Linked DNA regions of Homo sapiens: region 2 is linked to region 1. The links are contacts of gene promoters, found by promoter capture Hi-C in blood cells and fetal thymus (Javierre and others, 2016). All regions are on one chromosome and are shown on one strand. The core of a region is centred on a gene start or on the middle of the fragment in contact, and the rest is flanking DNA. Distances in the headings are between cores, read along the strand shown. Region 1 holds the start of GALC (galactosylceramidase). Region 2 overlaps NAA30 (N-alpha-acetyltransferase 30, NatC catalytic subunit).

Region 1 (4,427 bases), core at 1,776-4,275:
GGTAACTGTCATTTTTCTTTATCTCACATCTTGAGCACATTTGAGTGCCGTGCCCAGCACTCCAAGGATTTCTGTCAGCATGTATTTATTGGCCTTTTATTAGAAACTTTCTTACCTCATGTCTGCTCTCATGAATATAGATCAGAAATTAGAAACAAAAAATATTTATCTGGTAAGCAATTTCTTTGGTAACTGAACTAATAGGAACTACTGGGACTTCCTGGAAGTGAGGCTACCTTTTCCATTAGAGTTTATGCTTCCTCTTTTGTAGACTTCACACATTGCTCAAATATTTGTGGCGTGCATTCCAACTACAAGGTGCAATTGAGGGACGAGAAAAGGGAAAACTTAGTTGGGCAGACAGCTAAAGTTGGTCTTTGGTAAAATTCTTTTAAACAGAAAGACAGCCTGAAAAATCAAGCTACAGGCACACATAGAGTGGCCTGGGGAAAACTCAGGCAACAGCTGCCCTGATAAGAAAGGAAGGCCCAACATAGAAGCCTTTTGTTCTTTGTGTGATTAGCAGGTTCCCAGGAAAAAGTTTCTTCCCCTTTTCAGGCACATACATGGTGGGCTCTGTGGGAACTTGCATGGGGGTGGAGAGGGTGATTACCTAGAACCCACAGTTACACAAACAAGAGAAGCTGAACTTTATCCTTACCCAAGACATACCCACAGCTGCACAGATAAGGGGAGCTGCACAGATAGCTTTACAAGTAAGTTACACAAACAGCTACAGAGATGAGAGGAGTTTCTTATAAAAGCTTTTGGATTCAACTGTAAAAGTGGCAAAATGGCAAAGAAAGAAAGCTTTCTTCTTTCATATAATAAACTTTCTCTTCAACCTCACTCTGGTGTCCACACTCCTTAATTCTCTTGGTTGTGAGACAACAAGCTTGGATAACACCTCAGACAACGAGACCACTGACCACTGACCCGTTTCACAATGACGTACTACAGGATGGTGTATGCTGGGTATTCATACATCGTCATGCAACTTCCTAGTTTTATGTGTAAGGTAGTTTCCTCTGTCATCACCTTGGTATTTCCCATCTAGTCACGGTATTAAGTGGGTCTTATGCGCTTGTTAAGAGCTGGTAAGAGAAGCTTAACATTCACTTGATGGAATGGTTACTGTGGCTTGTATCCACAGGAGCTCCAGCTCATGCTTAAAATACTGTGTTAGAACAAATGGATCAGAGTGAATTCTGTAACAGTAAATCCACAGAACTGAAAATTACTGACTTGCATCATAAACTGGTTGCAGTGGCAAGGCAGAGAGTTCAGATTCGTGTTGTACTGGGGAAAGAAGAAACCAAAGAAAATAAGTGGTTCATACACAGGGGACTATTTAACTGATCCAAGCCAGAAGACTACTGAGGGTGAAAGGAGCATTATCAGTAATTATGTTTAGACAAAAGTTGTGACTGTCCTTAGTAAACCAGGATAGACGTAGAGTCAATTCAAAAAGAAAGAAAGAACAAACATATCTAATGTACATTAAGAACCCAGGGATATCGGGTTCTTAATGTGCATATTTATTGGATTGCCCAGAGCTTTGACCTTCAAGTATAATTGAGTTCTTGAAACTTAGATTTAGGTTTGTGGTTAAGGGGCAAAATAATCAGATTCCAAATAGGGTTCTGCAGACAAATCCCACAGGTCCTAAAGTCTCTGGGTCTTTTCCTTGCCATTGTGGTATCTCAGGGGCTTGTGTAGGCAATGATAACCAGTTCCATACTTCTGCTAAGAGAAATTTGGGGATCAGAAAATCTTTCTCTGCAGCTCTTCAGAGTCTCTTTAATTTACTTCAATAACAAGGAAATCAGAAATCTCAGGACAGTGCTGGATGTGGCAGAAATTCAGGGCAATTCACAACTTTCCTACCAATTTAGAGTTACCTGTCTGGAATCACTTCAACTGACAGTGGAAGATAGTTTATAAAATTGTAGGGGAGGCAAAATTTCACCTTCGTCCCTGTAGGGTCCCAGCATGGCCCTAGTATTAAATTGATTTAAGATATTAATAGACTGACAGGAGACAACCACACAAATGTTTATTTTACATAGCACGGGGGCCCTCATTAAAAAAAAAAAAGACCTAAAGCAGCAGTTAAGAGCCAATTGCTTATAGAGTGAAATGGACAAAAAATAGTAGTTGTGAAACATGATAAGGCGAAGGGGCTTGGGGTAAAGAAGCGACTAGAAAGATAGGGATTAACAAATTTTGTTTGGACAGATTTCCCTCGACTTCAACTTTCTGTCCTTGAAGATAACAATGTTATTTTATAGGGAAGACATCTTTCACATGGGAATTTCATCTCCTCCTTTTAAGACACATAATATCCATGACAGTGATCTTGCACCTGCTGTTTTTAAGTGCCTTTAATTTAAAATAGTCAATATGCCACAGCAGCATATTTTGAGGTGGTATATTATTAACTCCTTCAAGGCTAAAAGCTTTGAATATGCCGGGGTAGTTACCAGACTGGAGAACCTTCTCAGCTATTTGCCACTTGTGGAATGCATTCAAATGTACTGAGTGCTTATTAACTTTTCTCTCAGTCCCTCACTCTGCTGCTCTTCTCGCCTCATCTCACATAAGGGAAAACTCAGGCTCCAAAAGCAAAGTGATTCCACCAAGATGACAATGGAATCGGGACCTGGTGTCCAAGCCTGGTCCTCGCACGAGGTAGATACTCCCTGAGATGCTGGGGAAGAGCCATGGTAGGGCCACTCATGGCCCTCTTCCTTTGGCGGACCTTGGAATCCACCTTCCCTGCGTTAAAGTGCTCCACCAGGTGACGCCGGAAGAGAAGCCAGCAGTAAGTACATGTGAAATCCAGTAGCTGACCACAGACACGCGAGCGATAAGAAAAAGCTCGCTGCTTCTTTTCTCAACACTCCGCCAGCTGCGTCAGAGGCCCTTGACCCGCACTCAAAATGGCGGCGGCGGCGTCAGCATCAGCGGCCTCCTGCCCGTATCTATCGTGGCGGCGACGGGACCCGCCTCCCTGGGCGCCGGAGTCATGTGACCCACACAATGGCTGAGTGGCTACTCTCGGCTTCCTGGCAACGCCGAGCGAAAGCTATGACTGCGGCCGCGGGTTCGGCGGGCCGCGCCGCGGTGCCCTTGCTGCTGTGTGCGCTGCTGGCGCCCGGCGGCGCGTACGTGCTCGACGACTCCGACGGGCTGGGCCGGGAGTTCGACGGCATCGGCGCGGTCAGCGGCGGCGGGGTGAGCGGCAAGCTGCGGGGATACGCGGGGGGCGGCAAGAGCCCGCCCCGTGGGGCCAGCCCCACAAGCCCCCGCGGCGTTGCCCTGCGTTTCCACCGGCTCCACTCTCCGCCGCATTCCCCTAGGGTGCCAGTCAGCAGGCGGTTGGGGCGGGCCCGCTGCGGGGCTGGGGCGGGTGCTTTCTCGTTTAACACGAACCAGACAGGCAGTTAGGTTTGAACAAATGAGGATCCGGAGGTCCAGAGAGTATAGGTGCAGAGAGTAAAGTGACAGGTCTAAGTAGTGAAGTAGCCGGGGCTGGAACCCTCGTCCCAGGCAGTGGGGCACAGGCTGTCTTCATCGCGGAGATGGCAGTCGGGGAGCGTCGCTCCAGAAAGGGCCAGGGAGTGCGGGAGCGTCCGTGTGCGAAAGAGAACGCCCCAGTGGGATGCTTTGGCTGTGTCTCTCCCTTTTGGAGGAGTTGGTGGGTGGTGGAGTCGTTAAGTCCCGTGCAGTTGTTAGTGCAGGGTAAGAATGGGCTCCTCCAGAGAGGGTAGCGCCGAATAGGATTTCGTTTGGAGGCAGGACTGGTGCCTCAAGGTCTCTTTAAAAGGAAGATAAGCGAGCGGCCTGAAACTACCGGGTACTCCCTCTGGGCCCATGGGCTTCATGGTGGCCGACCTTTGGGTGAGAAGGTTTTTGTTTTTTGGTTTTGTATCCGAAATTACATCTAGGGCTAATGTTTCTTGAAAATGTTAAGGTTGAACTCGGATTTTTGGGGTTGAGTTGGATGGAGCTTGCATCCTTACATTCAACTCAGAACAAGCTTGAATGCCTGCTGCAAGGATGACCTGGTCTGTAGTGTGACCACAAGATATAACCTTCTGCTAGGGGAAATTTTTTTCCCCCTGGAGTTAGCTGATCCTTTTTGATTTTTATGTTTTCATTCCCTAATTTGCAATCTCTCCAGCCGTGCTGATGTGTATTTCAGGGGAAACCTGTGGGCCGATGAGTTAATGCATTTATTCTTTGCTACTACTATTCTCCTTTTTATGTTTTTGGGCTAAACCTGAAACAGCCAATATTTCATGGAGTGAGGCCCCATCTTTTTTATAGCTTTACTTGTGATACTATATCTAGGGTAAGAGCTTACCGAAAAATGGAAGTCTTTGTTTCCATTAGGTTTATTAAGCCCAGTTTAAAATTACTAA
Region 2 (4,830 bases), core at 46-2,545, about 31 Mb after region 1:
GTAAGCATTTTCGACGGGGGAAGATAATGGGAACTCTTGCAAGACAGCAGTCACAGAAGTTTCAGAAATCTAAATCCCCTAACTCCTTTAAATGTTCCAGTGTTAAAATTTCTCAATATTCTTTAGAACATGAATTTTTTATGCTTACTATTAAAGCCTAGGGAAAAAAGACAAGATTCCACAAGGTAAACATTCAAGTACTTTATAAGATTACATATGAGGTGCTTAAAATCACAATTATTTGCAACAAAGACCTAAGGTTCTGGAAGGGGAAATATGCAAAAAAAAAATGATTATAAAGAAAAAGTCTATTCATTAGGACATAAAATATTGTAAAACTTGCCCATCAGCAGAATGTAAATTTAAATATATTCAGTTAAATTTAGTAATAATGGCCAGGTGCTGTGGCTCATGCCTGTAAACCCAGCACTTTGGGAGGCAGGCGCAGGCAGATTGCTTGAGCTCAGGGGTTTGAGATCAGCGTGGGCAACATGGCAAAACCCTGTCTCCACCAAAATTACTTAAATTAGCCAGGTGTGGTGGCATGCACCTGTAGTTCCAGCTACTTGGAAAGCTGAGATAGGAGAATGGCTTGAGCCAGGAAGGGAGAGGCTACAGTGAGCTGAGATCGTGCCACTGCACTCCAGCCTAGGTGACAGAGTGAGACCCCATCTCAATAAAAGAAAAAAATGAAAATAAATTTAATAATAAAGTTTTAGTGAAAGCCAGATATAATACATATTTACACCTGAATGGTAGATTTCGATCAGGAAAAAAAAATTAAAAATTTTCAGAAAAAGCACAGTTTATAAGGTATTGCTTAGACCATACCCAAGAGGTTTTTGTTAATATATGTAAGTGTAGCATAGTCTCATTTTTAGGATACTCCTGATAGTGTGGATAACTGTCATAAAGCTCTCAGAATATTTATAGTTCAAAATCAAAGCTTTATGTTAAAAGCTTTAATTTTACAGAAATTTCTATTTTAATAAAAACGTACAGCTTTCCAGAGTATTAAAAGCTACATGTTAAATTCTAATCATCCCCCATTTTCATTAAGATTTCTAGTGTTACCATTGAAAATGTTTTTCAAAAATTCCAATGCTGATAAAAAGTTCTAGTAACACAGTATTTCTGGTAAATATAAATAGGGCAGTATCTCCAACTGTTTAAATAATGTGTCAGTAAGAAGTCTGTTTTCCATAAATTAACTTTCCAGAAGAAACTATTTCAACAAAAGCAGAAATGAGTCAAAAAACTAATAAGTAATGTCCAATTTATAATTAATACATATTTTAAATTTGTGACTTTTTTAGTCTGTCATTCTGTAAATTGATTAAAAGGCCTTTTTTTAACTGTGGAGAAATCTTTTCAGCAAGATAATTCTAATCCATTTCATGCAAACCTAAACTAGGTCGGAAAAATCCTTTTGAAGGAATATGAAATTCAACAACCCACGCTAATTCATTTCTGGTTTATCACACATTCCAAAACTATTTTGGGTCAATAAACCTCTGAAATTGTTATTTCTAATTTTTTCCCTCACAATACATCAATCTTTTAAAAAAATTTTTTAAACAAAGACCTGAAGTATGCACAAAAATCGCCTCGACCAACTCTGAAAGCTTTTTCTGATTTGAAACTCACTTCAAATATATGTGCGTATATACAGACACGTATAAATACATACACATACATAAAATTATCACAGACCAAATGGTATATTTAAAAGGGCCAGAAAAAATTTTGGCCTGACCTCATAAGCCAGGCTCAGGTGAAATGAAAACCTGTATTAGATTGATGATACAAACCTCAGAATAGCTACACCTTATATAAAACTATCCAAAAATGAGGAAAAATTAAAACCATTAAACACAATACAACTGGACAGTACTTTCAATCTGAACAGGAATTTCAAACAAATCTTTGTCCTTTGAGCATGGAATAAGCAAACAAAATATTAAATTAGTTCATTCTTAAGACCTGATTTCTTCCTAATTTAGAATCTATAGGAGCAAAAATCAAGCTGTATACATCATCTAAAAAGCCCAATATATCATACACCATTACGATGACATTAGTAGTGAAGACCAATGCTGCATTTTTTTTTCCTGATAAACTACTCATGAATATGTGGTACATTTACAGGAATCACTAAATTGCTTGTCAATTTTTCCAAATAAAAGCTCTGCATATACATTTGGAATTCACGCTATTAAATGTATTTTTTCAAGGATGGGAACTGAAAAATCCCCGGCAAGATTAAGACTTAACACTACAAGGCCAAAGGGTTGTCAGTCTATAAAACTATGAAAAAAATAAAGTGAGAGATTCCCAAATTCTAGAACACTACAAATAGAAAACTGGAGGAAGCCAAAAAGTTAAATTTAGAACAAATAAATGGAAGTACTATGTTACATTTGCTGAGAGTAAGTTTAAGAACTTCAAAAAGATACCAACAACTGAAAATGTTACTATGAAAACAGGTAAAGATAAAATGGTTAAGTACAGAGTAACTGAAAGTGTCTCACATTTGTCCTTTTTTTTTTTTTTTTTTACATCTTTTACAATTAGGAAGAATCATAATAAGCTATCATTTTTATTAATCAAGTATTGGCAATTTTGTAAGGTTCAACCCCATATACTCCATTGACCCATTACAGGTTATCCACGGAAAACGGAACATTTTGGAGGTTTTTAATCTCTTGAGATTGATGTAAGGGCAACTGTCCCTTGGTGAAGATAACTTGGTGACACAATAATCTTCACTGAATGGATCAAGGGTATGTCATTTTTCAGGTTCTTGTTTGTTACCATAATGAGAGGCCAGGAGAACTGGGTTCTAGCTTTACCCTTCCGACGGTAAATATCTGGAGATTGAAACATTTTAAGTCACTTTGGTTCTTAACTTCTTTTCAATCAAAAAACAAAACAAAACCTACCCCTCTGTCAGTAAATATCTGGAGATTGAAACATTTTAAGTCACTTTGGTTCTTAACTTTTTTTCAATCAAAAAACAAAACAGAACAAAACCTAAGTTGGGCTAGATTATCTCTAGGATGGCTTTCAGTTCTAAAAGGATATGATTTAAAATAAACAGACATTTACGCATCTGTATTTTTAAAAAAATAGTTCCTATGGGAAACTTAAATTTAAAAGTATGCCAAGATAAAGGCTTCAGTTTTAAATGGCCTGGTTGTTTTTTTACTGTTTTATTATTGTTTAATACCTCCTGATTCATACTTGCACCAGTAAATCTTATAGGTCAACCACTTGTGCATATCGCAATTCTAGATACTCAGAATATTAAACAAACTTGAGCTACTAAAGGCTAACATACACATTAGCTGGTGAATTGGGAGGGTTCTACATAAAATCAAATCTAAAGTTTACTAATATTGTTGACCAGAGTCTAAAATAGCAAACAAGTTGAGAGAGGCTTAGGTAACTATCAGGACTCAAAGTTGACTAAATATCATATACACAACTATTTCCTGGAATTGACAGAAAAACATCTATTTCAACTTGAAATGTGACTCAATCATCTACTTCTGTGGGTTAACTTACAACTAAATCTACAATTTTTAGCAATTACAGTGGCATTTGATATGACATTTATAATAGTGCTATAAATCATTTTCTCATATTCATTGACACAGACATGTCTTAGAACTATTCTGATACAATGCTTAGAATACTGAAAGAGCAGTTTTCAAGAATATAAAGTAGTACCCACAGTTTTAACAAATGTACTGAATTGAAGTTTAAGCAAGTTAAGACAGAAAATAGAACTACCATTATCTACAATACCCAGGTTACATTTTCAAATTATCACCAAGCTAGAGAATCAAAAAGATAAGTATTGTCAAAATATCTTGCAGGGAATTACCAAGTGAAACTAAGCCAATGCTAAAACATTAAGTAATGGTGGCTTTTCCCTTCACATATTAAAAAATATTCCTTAAAAGGATGTCATCTTTCTGTAGTAAAATTCAACAGAAACAATATGCTTGTGAGCACATGATACAAAGCATACACCTGCAGTCAACGTTTAAGTTAAAGGGTTCATACAGACTGAAATGGGTCAATATTATTGTGAAGAAATTACTGGTACTGCCAATACTATGTTAATTTTTAAAAACCGTCCAAAAGTCTTTCACTTACGTGTAATATTATTGTCAATTATACTCTACACAAGCCAGTGTTACTAGTGTTTGGCCACATCTACAACCAGTTTCTTAAATTAAAAAAAAAAAAATCAGATCGGTAACAATTTCACACAAGTTTTCTACATTCCACAAAAGGGTATTTTGTTCAAGTTTCAGGAGTCTTTCAGCCACCAGAAGTGTTAGTAGCGCTTTCTGGAATGGAGTACCAGAAAGCAGGCTGGCTACAACTGTTAATTGTCCAGTTGAAGTAAAGAGAAACATCTCCATAATTACCGAAAATGCTTGTAAGATTTAATTCTCCAATATGACCACACCAAGTTTGCTGACATCCATGTTCACCACAACATGTTTATGCATACACTCTTCCCTGATTATGGTTGTAATCGAGAGACTAATAAGGCCTGTATCTGAACAGAACCATGTTCAAATTAAATGACTGTAAAGTGTTTGAGGATGCGGGCGGGTAATTAAAGACGGTTAAACACGATTATAATCTAATGTAAACAAGACACAAGACCCCCACCCCAGTGAAACACGCCACCATACAGGCTTGCTGCAGTTACACTAGTATCACGTTAACCCGAATCATGAAGTCTTACCTTCAAAACAATTTCATTAAATAACTAGGAATGTGTACAGCACTTGACATCATATAACGTAC

Evidence for each region. Contacts are between HindIII fragments. The CHiCAGO score rates a contact against its expected background, and 5 or more counts as called.
Region 2: a contact is called between a fragment that was not itself captured here and the fragment with the promoter of GALC in region 1, in 1 of 17 cell types (fetal thymus). The highest score is 6.1, in fetal thymus.

What each region holds. Positions count from the first base shown.
Region 1 is chr14:87,991,780-87,996,206 of GRCh38, reverse strand. GALC (galactosylceramidase) reads left to right here and starts at 3,025. Exons shown (of 17, transcript NM_000153.4): 1 at 3,025-3,237. The coding sequence starts at 3,043. RefSeq lists enhancers at 2,688-3,017, 2,712-3,212 and a silencer at 3,168-3,357. The HindIII fragment of the contact is 1,583 bases long and covers 2,462-4,044 here.
Region 2 is chr14:57,391,838-57,396,667 of GRCh38, reverse strand. All of the region lies in intron 2 of NAA30 (N-alpha-acetyltransferase 30, NatC catalytic subunit), which reads right to left. Among named protein-coding and RNA genes, the nearest start is that of NAA30, 3.7 kb to the right of the region's middle. The HindIII fragment of the contact is 665 bases long and covers 963-1,627 here.